Regions from separate parts of the Homo sapiens genome. Here region 2 is linked to region 1. The links are contacts of gene promoters, found by promoter capture Hi-C in blood cells and fetal thymus (Javierre and others, 2016). All regions are on one chromosome and are shown on one strand. The core of a region is centred on a gene start or on the middle of the fragment in contact, and the rest is flanking DNA. Distances in the headings are between cores, read along the strand shown.

Region 1 (6,399 bases), core at 3,380-5,879:
GTAAGACTTAATTCTCCTAACACAAATATTTCAAGATGTGTGTTACACATATTTTTACAGATTTCACAGGCACATATGATGAGATGCCTCTCTAAAAACATGAACGATTATCTGAAAGAGATGTTCTGGATCTGTTATGAAAAAAACTGGTAATATGTAGAAAACTATAACCATGTATTTACTATTTTTTTCCTCAAGGATGTATCTGTAATGCTTATATAAACGTTTATTTTTTATAATATGAAAAACACTACGTAAAAACCGATTTCTCTACCTCAAATTTAAAAATAAAAAATATGTCTAGAGACAGTTAATGCCATATGCCAATAGCTCTTCTTGAATCCTCTGCCTTGCAATCAATAATTCTCCAACCATTAGTGAATATGCTCCATGACTCATCAGAAACAATATACAAAGTTAATGGGGATCATTCTTCCCCTCACCCTCCACACACGCACTGACACTAATGGAAGCTATGCCTCATCTAGTGGAAGACAGACTCAAGATGGCACCAAGCTGAGGCAACTCTTCTTGAGGCTCTATATACAAACTAGCTAACCTCCCCACGAAGAATCCACAACATCCATTTTACATTTTTTGGCATCCTTCGAGAAAATAATAGTAAGCATACTTTATATGGCTAGAAAAGAACCACATTTTTTTCAGCTTAACACTCACTGTGAATGGCAAAATGTACTTCAGTTATGAAAATATCTGAAAGGAATGTTTCCAGGACCTATGCCATTGTGCTTTGTTTACCAGTCAGATGCCTTCTCAAGAATGTGTTCAAATTATAAAGACAGTGTCTCCATGTATAGAAATTCTTCAGAGCCCATAATGTTACGTTAGAAACACATTTTCACCTTTGCTAATATTCAAAACAATACCCTCCTATCTGCAGGTAAAAATCTTTCATTCTTATGAATGCAGCAATCTTTTATTAACATTTGCTCAGGACTTTGGATATGGGTTTTTTTTTTTAACTTTCTAAAGAAAGTTCTAGCAAAAGAAAACACATATTAAGTATTTGAAGATAATTGCTATTTACTAAAATCTCTATTTTAAAATAATTTTAGTGACTCGTTTATGTTTGGTAACTTCAGGACAATGATAACTACAGTGTCTCTAAAATGTTCCTAAGTAACAATCATACTCTATTTTGGCCTTTGAGAGGTGTTAAGACTCATTCTCTAATTATAAGTTTTTCTCTATTATTACTACCTCACCATCAAATCTCTAAACTAAATAGCAGCTTTGAGGAAATAAAAATAGATGTTAGGTGGTGTGTTTTCTCAAATTTTGGTTACAATGGATAAGAAAGACGAGGTATTTCTATGTATAATAAAATAAGCCAATTTTATTGTTTTGACCAGCAAAATCTTTAAGCTTTCTCCCAGAATATTGTTTTCCTGCTTTATCCTAGAACAACACTGTCCAAAATAAATACGATGTTAGCCACATTTGTTATATTTTCTAGACACCATGAAAGAGAGAGAGAGAGAGAGAGAGAGAGAGAGAAAAGAAACAGGTGAAGTTAATCTAGTAAGATCTTCTATTAGAACCAATATATCAAAAATTATCATTAAAACATATCATAAATATAAAAATATTAATCAGATGTTTTACTTTCTTCCCCTCATATAAAGTTTTCAAAACCGGTAGTATTTTACACTTCTCAATCTGGACAAGACACATTTCAAGTGCTCAACAGCCACATGTGGCTACTGTACTGGACAGCACATTCTAGATTTCCAAACATATGAAGCTTTTTGGCCTAAAAAAACCATACACTTTAAAATCTTTCTATGTCACATTCTCTATGATCCATATGGTTGATGGGATTTTATTTTGGGCCAATCACTTCGTGAACCTATTTCACTTCTTTCCTCCACTCTTTTGACTCTCATATCTACTACCCACCCTAATGCCTTTGCATACAGAATTTTAAAAACCCAATCACCTATTCTTTTCAGCTTCTCCTAACCAAGACCTGAGATGTTCTCTAATCCGCACATCTATCACCAAGCAGAAAGCCAGAAGGTGCAGCAAGATTATTTATTCTCTGTTTCCATATAGATCTATCAAATACAGGCCTAATGTATGGCAACAGTGACAAATGCAAGGGCATTTTTTTCTTATAATGAAGATAAGGCATTTTATATAATAAAGTAACACACCCTTCCTCAATGAGAAATACAATTTTCAATGAGAAATATAATTTTACTCTTTTTTTTTCCCCCAGGAGAAATTTTGGGTTAGTCTGTTCTTGTTCTGGAACAAAACCCAGTGTTTCATTTCATAGGAATTCTGTGCCCAAAGGAAGAACAGAATGTTGGAATCAAAATTTAATGAATTCAACTTGGAGTCTAACTTTGCCTCAAATGTGGAAATGTAAACACAAGCAATAATATCTCAAACCATATAACACTTCAGTTTCTCTTTGGCATGACTGCGCAGAGTACCACACTTGATGTGTATCTACACACAAATTTGTTCACAGTTACATAAGGAAAAAAATTAAACTAGGCATATGTGAGGTTTTTCTGAGTCTCTTAGTAATAATGAAATCTGATTATTATGTCTTAAGTGACACTATAATTATAGATGAACAGGTTTTCTGTTGCTGACCCAACCTGTTCCTTAAAACACAAAAGGCAACTTTTGTAGTCTTCAGCAAGGAAACCCCCCATTAAACAAATAAGACTAAAAAAGCTATGCCTACATTTTCAAAGAAGACCTAACAATATAATAATAATAATAAAGTAACTCCCATGCAAATACACAAAACAGATAAAAACTAGAACATTAGGTTTTCTAAAGAAGTTTAGCCTTAGTTGTCACCAACTTTAAGAAAGCAAGATACAAGTGACAGCGATGTGCATTCTCAGGCTACAAAATAACTTATTCAGTGCCTCTATCTATAACTACATCTAAGACATTCTAAGTATTGAACTGCACATTCCTGGGATAAATTTTACAGTCGTTGAACTTTCATTTTCTCTCTGGGTGATAATATTTTATCTCAACAGCAAGGAGAAACACCAACACACTTAGGAATCCACACAGAGAGATAACTGTGGAGTGGCTCTCTTGTGCTGGTATAGAATACTTAGGTACTAAACACCCTCTGTGTATAAACAGACACTGTGTTCAAACCCAGGAGGAAGGGACATAGTGTCCACCGGTGTAGTATTTCAAAGCACGCTGCAGAGGGCTCGAAAGTCTAAAAGCATTAATTATGACTTCTCTCCTAGCGTATTAATTTAAGAAACTCCTCAGAGTATATGGCAGAGTTTGCCATCCATCTGCTATGACTTGTGCCTGTGCTGGTGGGCACACAAAGTGAAGTCAGCGGCAACAACCTTTCCGGCAGCTTCTTAACTTTAATCCTGGGGAGACATACTCCACGGAAATACACCCCAGAATCCCAACAGCCGCATACTCTCCCGGCCCCAGAGAGCCTTAAGAATACAATATTACTCTGGCAGCAACACCCCTGTAGTTGTAAAGTGCTGTGCGAGGGGAAGGCATAAGCGCCACCATATACCTGCTCGTGTTACAGGCTCTGGAATCAAAGTATTCTCACATGACACATTACTACCAATAACAGATTCCGGCTCCGTTTAAAAAAAAAAAAAAAAGTTGGGGGGTGGCTACATATTTGTCCTGCTTTTGTCTAAAAACCAGAACCCAAGTACTAACTACTTTTCATTCTTTTCAACCTTTCATGAAAGCAATTCAACCAACTGCGGCTCCACCCAAAGAGCTTCTATACTTACTTTTCTTACAGTTTTTGAGTGACGCACTACAAAACGATGAAAAAAAAAAGAAGAAGAAGAAAAGGAGGAGGCAGCCCTCTCCTACAGGGCGTCTTCCGCCCTGTAAACTTGGCAAAAGGCAAACTGGCCTGAAATACAGCACTCTCCATATAAGGCAGCCCAGCTAAACATGTCATGCGTAATTTATGGGTAGCAAGCAGAGAATTAACCTTTGCGTGCACATATTTGGCCCAGATGAAAACCGGGCGGGATGGCAGCCCCGGGGCCAGGGATGCGGGAGCCGCCGGGAAGACCCGCGCGCCGCTCGACTCAGAGGGACTCACACCTTCCCCCGACAAAGGTCATTAAGTTGTGAGTACACTTGCACGCACCTGTTTCTCTTCTCGCCCCCCTGTTTCTCCCTGGGTCCCGCTGGGCTGCCAAGCCGTGCGCGGGCTGTGCCGTGACAGCGTCCGCAGAGCCCGCGGCAGGGAAGGGCGCAGGAGCGGCTGCGGCTCACCCTCCCGCCTTCCCCCGGGCAGGAGGTGCTGAGGGACGCGAAACCAACTACCGCGAGCGGCCCGCCCCTGCCCGGGAGAACCGCGGCCGGCGAGCACCTCCTCGCACTTCCTCCTTCAGCCACGGGCAGACCCGCCGGAGTCCGAACAATGAAGCGGCGCGGGGAAACTGTGAAAATGGAAACTTACCTCTCACATTTTTTTTTCAGAGGCGGCCCCACTGTCGACCAAGTGCCCAAGGCATTGTGGGAGTCATGATTCCAAGATGCCCGCGACGGAAAATGGAACTTGTCAGCTCCTTGTCATGGGAGCATTGTGGGCGCCACAACTCATTCAGCTGCAGTGAAAAGACTGTTGCATGTCGCTGTGCAGCCTCTTATCGCCGAGGTCTGGCTTCCGCTGCTGCTGCGCGGCCCCTCCCCCGCCCGCCCAGCCCCACCAGGAAGCCCAGGGCGGACTCGTCGAGCTCCTAATGCACGCGGCGGCGAGAAAAACGCTCTTCAACTTTCCGCCGGCGCCCTCCCGCGCTTCCCCGGGCCACAGGGTCGCCTGTCAACCGGACAGAGCCCGCAAGAGCGGGTCATGGGCGGTCGCCCAGCGGCGCCGAGAGCAGGAGGAAGCCGGAGCCCGCGCGGGCGCCGTGGATCCCCTCGGCCTCCCGTTGGTATCTTCCATCTCATGCGTTCAGCATTGTAACCTCGCGGCGGGCGTGCAGACCGGACGCCCTCCCGCTTCTTCTACCGACTGCTAGGCACACCAGTGGGTTCATTTTGAAAGAGGCCCTTGCACCGGGCTTTGCAAGGAAGCCGGCAAGGTTAGATTGAAGGTTAGAAGCCAATTAGACTAGAATCCTGCGATCTGGTGAGACTGCCGCCTTAAAATGCACCAAACAGTTTTTGAACCTGGAGGGCTAACAGGCGGGAAAAACATCTGCAAGACTGCCACCGTGTATTTTTCTCAAGTAACAGGCTATCCACAGTTTTGGAATTCCTTAGTGAAACTGTCACACAGGCACAAACACATGTCAGCTTTCCTTCTAGTTTGTAAATAATATTTGTAATTTACAGGCCACTGTATTCCCAACTTTGCACCATGTGATTTAGAGAAAGCAAAGCTCCCTCTTTAAAAATAATATGTTACTTCTGAAATACCGGGATATTCCACGGCAAGTAAGCCATATTGTCGCCAGAGCAAATAAACCGCAGCCCCATATCATAATTCACTGGGTGCTATAAGATGTAACTTGGCTTTGCTTTGAATGGAAAGAATCCTGAACGTCTGTGATGTGATGAAGTTTTGGAGACTGGGGGCAGGATTTCCTTTGAATGTAAGGAATTCGGATAACTTGTTCAAGGATGATTCTAGTGAAAAACGTTTGTCCCATGTTTGTTGGGACAAAAATGCTGGATATGGTACAACATTCTTCCTGCAGGTTCGGTTTTGTTGAAGAGAGTGAGGCCAGCTCGAGGTGAAGGAAAAACATCAGAAAGGTGCTAAAGTGCAGAAATATCTTCCAGAGGCACTAATAGCCGACTTTAGTTCTTGACCTTTAGCTAGATCCACAAAGCACTGAGTTAAAATTGTACACTGATCCCTTCCAGAACAAATTAATTAATTAAATGGTGCCTCTTCCCAGCGTTAATCGTTTAAAAGGACTCAAGTACCCACACAGTTTAAGCAAACTAAAAGAACACTGACACTTTCTCAGAGAACAGGGATGGGAACTTTCTATCTGCCCATTAGTATCTACCCCAAGCTACGAAGACTTCCATTCCTCTTATTAAGCATTCAGCAACTACATTTAGTGCCTACTATGCCAGTGATGCAAGAATGGATAAGACAGTCCCTACACTCAAGGATAACGCCTCTAGTAGGTGAGAGACAAACCGATTAATTCTGCATAAGGGATAAGTGCTGTATGTGGGAAGCAATCCAATGAGGGCTCTGAGGATGGCAAAGGAAGGGTTCCTGGAGGATTTACATTTAACTGGTGCCTTGAAAGGTGTGTAGAAGTTGGCAAGATCAAAAGGGAGTAGAGTCCAGGTGGAGAAGAGAAAAGAGCAGGGCAGGCTGGATGGCATGGCTCACACCTGTAATCCCAGCACTTTGGGAGGCCATGGAGG
Region 2 (6,222 bases), core at 3,087-5,586, 330 kb after region 1:
ATCACTTGAGGTCAGGACTTCAAGACTAGCCTCACAAACATGGTGAAACCCTGTCTCTGCTAAAAATACAAAATGAGCCTGGCACGGTGGTGTACACCTGTAATCCCAGCTACTTGGGAGGCTGAGGCAGGAGAATCACTTGAACCCAGGAGGCAGAGGTTGCAGTGAACCGAGATCATGCCACTGCACTCTAGCCTGGGCAACAAGAGTGAAACTCCATCTCAAAAAAAGAAACAAACAAACAAAAACTTGTGGCCCAAACCTACTGAAACAAAATATTAACAATCTGCGTAGAATTTAAACAAGACTCCAAAGAATCTTGAAGTAATTCACAAAATGTCAAAAATGACTCAGCATAGAAAGAAGCACAAACATTTCAATTCACATGAGAAAAGACAATCAACAGACAGCAAAGCTGAGATGACAATAGATGTTGGAATTAGCTGACAAAGACTTTAAAGTAGCTATTATACAAATGTTTCCAGAAGCAATTGTGAACACTCTTGCAACAAAGGTTAAACAAAAAGCTTTAGCAAAGAAATCAAAGATATAAAGAACCAAACTGAAATTTTAGGATGGGAAAATACAATAAACACCTTCTTCTATCCTCCAATAAAAATCTCACTGAGTTCAACAGCAGGATGGAGATAACGGAGCACAGAGTCAGTGAACTTGAAGACGGATCAGGAGAAAAAACTCATTTAACCGAAACAAGACAAAGAAAACAACTTACAAAAGAACAAAATCTCAAGGACCAACAGGATGATACCTGAAGATCTAACCATGCCACTGGAGTTTCAGAAAGATAGGGTAATGATGAAAAAAATAAAAAATAATGACAGAAATCTTCCAAACTTTATTTTTTAGAAAATGTATAAAAGAAGTGAAGCAAATCCCAAATAGGATAAACTCAAAGAAATCTATGCACAGACATATCATAATAAAACTGCTGAAAACCGAAGACGAAGAAAAAGTGCTTAAAGCAGCCAAAGAAAAGTGACACATTAACTATAGGGGAAGAATGATTTAGAAACTTCAATACTTCTCATCAGAAATCATGGCAGACAAGAAGAAATGCTGAAAGAAAAAACTGTCAATTCCTAATTAAGAAAATGTTTTATTATGTTTAATCCAGAATTTTATATCTAAATGAAATATCCTTCAGTAGTGAAATTCTCACTACTGAAGGATATTTCATTTAGATAGGATATTTCATTTAGATATAAAATTAAAAATGTCCTCAGATGAAAGAAAACTGAAAGAACTTGTATCTATCAGTCATGCTTTAAAAGAATTTCTAAAGGAAGGTTTTTAGATAGAAGGGAAATTGTTTCTGAAACAAAACACTTGAAACTCCAGGAATTAAGGGAGAAGAAAAGAAAGAGCAACATTTCAATGAAAAGTTGTCATAGTTCATTTGGGCTTCTCTAAAGAAATACGATAAACCAGGGTAGGTTATAAACAACAGAAATTTATCTCTCAGAGTTCTCAAGACTGGGAAGTCCAAGATCAAGGGGTAGCAGATTTAGTGTCTGCTAAGAGCTTGTTTCCTGGCTCATAGATGGCACCTTCTTAGTGTATCCTCACATGATGGAAGTGGCAAACAACCTCCCTTAAGCCTTTTTTTAAAATAAGAGTACACTAATCTCATTCATAAGGGCTCTACCTTTGTGATCTAATCAAATCCCAAAGATCCTACCTCTTAAAACCATCACCTTGGGGGTTAGGATTTTAACATGTGAACTTTGAGGGGAAACAAATATTCAGACCAAAGCAAATGTAATAAGTTAGTCTTCTTATCTTGAATTCTTTTACCCAAAAGAAGACTTAAAATAGGAAACAGAGTAATATAAAATAAGGGGAATAAGTACAAAACCAGAAAATAAAATGATAGTCCTAAATCTAAACCCATCAATAATTAATTTAAACATAAATGGTCTGGACACACCAATTAAAAGACAGAGATGGTTGGAGTGATTTTAAAAATTACTTATATGCTGCAAAGAGAGCCACTTAAAATATAGTTACACAGATAGGTTAAAAGTAAAATGATGAAAAATAATATACCACATATATTAGTCCTTTTCACACTGTTAATAAAGATGAGCCCAAGACTAGGCAATTTACAAAAGAAAGAGGTCTAATAGACTTACAGTCCCACATGGGTGGGGAGGCCTCACAATCATGGCAGAAGGCAAGGAGGAGCAAGTCACATCTTATGTGGATAGCAGCAGGCAAAGAGAGAGCTTGTTCGAAGAAACTTACCCTTATAAAACCATCAGATCTTGTGAGACTTATTCACCATCATTAGAACAGCACGGGAAAGACCTGCCCCATGATTCAATTACTTCCTACTGGGTCCCTCCTACAACATGTGGGAATTCAAGATGAGATTTGGGTGGGGACACAGCCAAACCATATCACTACACAAACACTAATCAAACAAAAACTGGAATGACTATGTTAATATCACAAAGCAGACTCAGAGCAAAGATTACCAGGAATAAAGATGGACATTACATAATAAAAAGGCTTAATTTACCAAGAAGACATAAGAATTATCAATTTATATGAGCTAAGCCACAGATCTTCAAAACACACAAAGCAAAAACCTACAGCATTGAAAGAAAAAATAGACATATCAGCAAATATAGTTGGACAGTCAACATTTCTTTCTTAGTAACAGAAAGGACTAGTTAACAGAGTTAGCAAGGATATAGAAGAACAAAACAATGCCATCAACCAACTTTATCTACTTGATTTTTATAGAATTCTATCCAAAGATAGCAAAATACACATTATTTTGAGGGACACATGGAATATTCATCAAGATAGATGATATTCTGGCTCATAGTCACACATTAACAAACATAATTGAAATCACACAAAGTATGTTCTCTGACCATAATGGAATTATACTAGAAATAAATAACAAAAGAAAAAAACAAAACCTTCAAATATTTGAAAATTAAAGCTCATGATTCAAAATAATATGAGTCAAAGAAAATGTTTCAAGAGAAATTAGAACACATTTTGAATGAAAATGCAACATAACAAATTAAGTCAAATTTAGTTAAAGCAATGCACAAAGGGAAGATGTGTAACAGTAAATACATACATTATAAAAGGAGGAAAGTCTCTGTAATCTCAATTTCCGGTATAAGAAACTATAAAAACAATAGTAAAATAAGAAGCAGAAGAAAATACAGTTATGTGTCACAACAGTATTTTGGTCAATGATGGACTGCATGTACGACAGTAGTCCCAAAAGATTATAATGGAGCAGGAAAATTCCTATCACCTAGTTGACATTGTAGGTCCCAGTGCATTGCATGAACTTTGCTATATCTGTGTATCTAAACATAGATACACAAGTGCCATTCTGTTGTGGTTGCCTGCAGTATTCAGTAGAGCAACATACTGTATAGGTTTGTAGCCTAGCAGCAATAGGCATACCATATAGCCTAGTGCTATATCAGATGTGCAGGAGGTCATACCATCTAGGTTTGTGTAAATACACTCTGATGTTTGTACAACAAAATTGCCTAACAATGCATTTCTCAGAGCATATCCCTGTCGTTAAGCAATGCATCTTGTAATACATATAAGAACAGAAATTGTTAAAATTGAAAACAGAAAACAATAAACAAATTTTTCTTTTTCTTTTCTTTTCTTTTTTTTTTTTTTTTTTTTTTGAGACGGAGTCTCTCTCTGTCCCCCAGGCTGGAGAGCAGTGGCCAGGCCTCAACTCACTGCAAGCTCCGCCTCCAGGGTTCACGCCATTCTCCTGCCTCAGCTTCCTGAGTAGCTGGGACTACAGGCGGCGCCACCACGCCTGGCTAATTTTTTGTATTTTTAGTAGAGACGGGGTTTCACCGTGTTAGCCAGGATGGTCTCGATCTCCTGACCTCGTGATCTGTCCACCTCCGCCTCCCAAAGTGCTGGGATTACAGGCGTGAGCCACCGCGCCTGGCCAATGAACAAATTTTTTAAATTGTGCTTTAAAAAAAAAAAAAGCAAGACCAATAAACTTAATAAATATCTACAATGATTAACAAAGAAAAAAATAGAGGATGTAAATTACCAATACTAGGAAAGAGAGAGAGGATTTCGTTACAAAATCCAAAGATATCAAAAGAATAATAACAGAGAATTTCAAGATAAATAGGCAACTCAACTAGTCCTCTGTCTATTAAAGAAGCTGATTTTATACTTAAAAGTTCCTAAAAAAGAAGTATCCAGAACAAAAAAGCAAGACAAAGACTAACATGTTTAACAATTCAAAAGAAACACAAAATTCTCAATACAGTGGTCTCCCCCTTATCCTCAGGGGATATGTTCCAAGATCCCTAGTGGACGACTGAAACTGAGGATGCTACTAAACCGTGTGTGTGTGTGTGTGTGTGTGTGTGTGTACACACTATGTTTCCCTCCCATAAATACATACCTATGATAAAGTTTAATTTACAAAGTAGGCAGGGTAATATATTCACAACAATAACTAATAATAAAATAGAATAATTAAATGTTATGCTGTAATACAAGTTAGGTGAATGTGGTCTCTTTCTCTCTCTCAAAATATCTCATTGTACTCTACTCACTTACATTCAAACTATGGAATATGAGAAGATGCCTAACTTCACTAGCAATAAAAAAGCAAGTTAGAACCACAAGAGTTACCATGTCTTACCCAATCTTTAGGTGAAAAACTAAATCTGACACTGTCATGTTGGCATATATGTGGAGCAACAGGAACTTATGAATATTGGTGGTATGATGTATAAATTGGCCCAAACATTTAAAAAATAGATCAACATTTCATAGGAAGTTTGAATATGCTCATAATATATGATCTAAGGATTTCACTCCTGGAATAAATGTATAAAAATTAATAACATATTACAGGAAATAACCAAAATGTCCGACAATGGTAGAATGGAAAATACATTGTAGACTGGTTTTAAGGTGGAACACTGTTCAGCAGGGAAACTGAATGAGAGACAGTTACATGTGAGCTTTGCCCAGTGAATCTACCCAAACCTCATATTGAATGAAATAAGTAAGACATAGACATTATAGTGTAGGAATTCATATTCATAAGGTTCAAAAATAGGAGAAATATATCCATAAGTGGTAAAATCATTTAAAGCCGAAAGAACGTGGGATGATTATTATAAAAGTCAAAATGACGAAAACCTCTGTTTGTAGGATGGGAAGGTGATATAATTGGGAAGATGTATAGAGGATTTGGAAAAAACTGGCCAGTCTCTATTTCTTAACCTCAGCAGTGGACACATAGGTGCATCATTTACTAAAATTATTTAAGTCAATATATGCATTTATATATTGTTTTGTATGAATGATATTTTCTAATAAATGGAAAATTGCAAAGTGAAATAAACCACTTTTTATGAAATACCGAAACTGAATTACTGTGCTTGTCCAAAAAGCTGCATCCTGATGTGGGATATTTGGTTATAATTTTTCTCATTCTAACACATTCCAGTTTTGAACTCTTGACTCTTTGAAATGCCAAATGTAATTATAATGCGGTATTTTGTTTAAGCATGTGCAATTAAAAGGGCACCATTGAATTGTGGTAGTGTGTAATGTTTCCCAGCTGCTAAAGGTAGAGGACATAATTTTATGATGTGTATTTGCTCCTACCAAAGACTCTCTATTTTATAGATTTATATGATATTAGAAAGCTCTCCTTCATTCCACTACTCTCTATCTGGGTTTATAGGTTAGAAGTGAATTATAGTTTGGTACAGGAGTCAAAAGCCTGCCTTGAGAGTGCTGGCCCTTCATTTCAGGAAAACTACTCAGGGATAAAATGGCCAGTTTTTGAAGCCAGAATTGTCAGGGCATTATTGCTTATTTTATGCAGTTTTAAATATGCCAAGGACATATTTGGAGCTATGCTGAGAAGAAAGGGATCCCTGTCCAGTTAATTAAAACATGACTTTTAGCAAGTTGCAAGTAGAGAAGGTTCATAGGAACAAATTATAAATCTGCTTATTTATCTTCTACCACATTGTCTTTTACAGAATACTCTTTAACCCACTGTATTTCACATCTCAGCAGTTTCTTCTTCCCCATGATTCCTAAGACTTTTTTCTATCTTTGAAAACTAGAATGTAGCTCTTAGTTTTCCTTCCTGGATAGTTAATTCATACAAGATTCTGTGTGGATTACAGAATCAGACCCAGTTTTTAGAAG

The links. Contacts are between HindIII fragments. The CHiCAGO score rates a contact against its expected background, and 5 or more counts as called.
Region 2: a fragment that was not itself captured here is called in contact with the fragment with the promoter of MBNL1 in region 1 in 1 of 17 cell types (neutrophils); the score reaches 5.6 in neutrophils.

Annotation. Positions count from the first base shown.
Region 1 is chr3:152,267,159-152,273,557 of GRCh38, reverse strand. MBNL1 (muscleblind like splicing regulator 1) reads right to left here and starts at 4,629. Exons shown (of 10, transcript NM_021038.5): 1 at 4,466-4,629. It overlaps MBNL1-AS1 (MBNL1 antisense RNA 1), which reads left to right and starts at 3,932. Exons shown (of 2, transcript NR_027038.1): 1 at 3,932-4,130; 2 at 4,486-6,399. RefSeq lists silencers at 4,182-4,291, 4,692-4,741, 4,792-4,851 and enhancers at 3,742-4,583, 5,042-5,141, 4,584-5,426. The HindIII fragment of the contact is 10,088 bases long and covers 1,768-6,399 here.
Region 2 is chr3:151,940,974-151,947,195 of GRCh38, reverse strand. All of the region lies in intron 1 of LOC107986047 (a long non-coding RNA gene), which reads left to right. Among named protein-coding and RNA genes, the nearest start is that of AADACL2-AS1, 16 kb to the right of the region's middle. The HindIII fragment of the contact is 7,614 bases long and covers 530-6,222 here.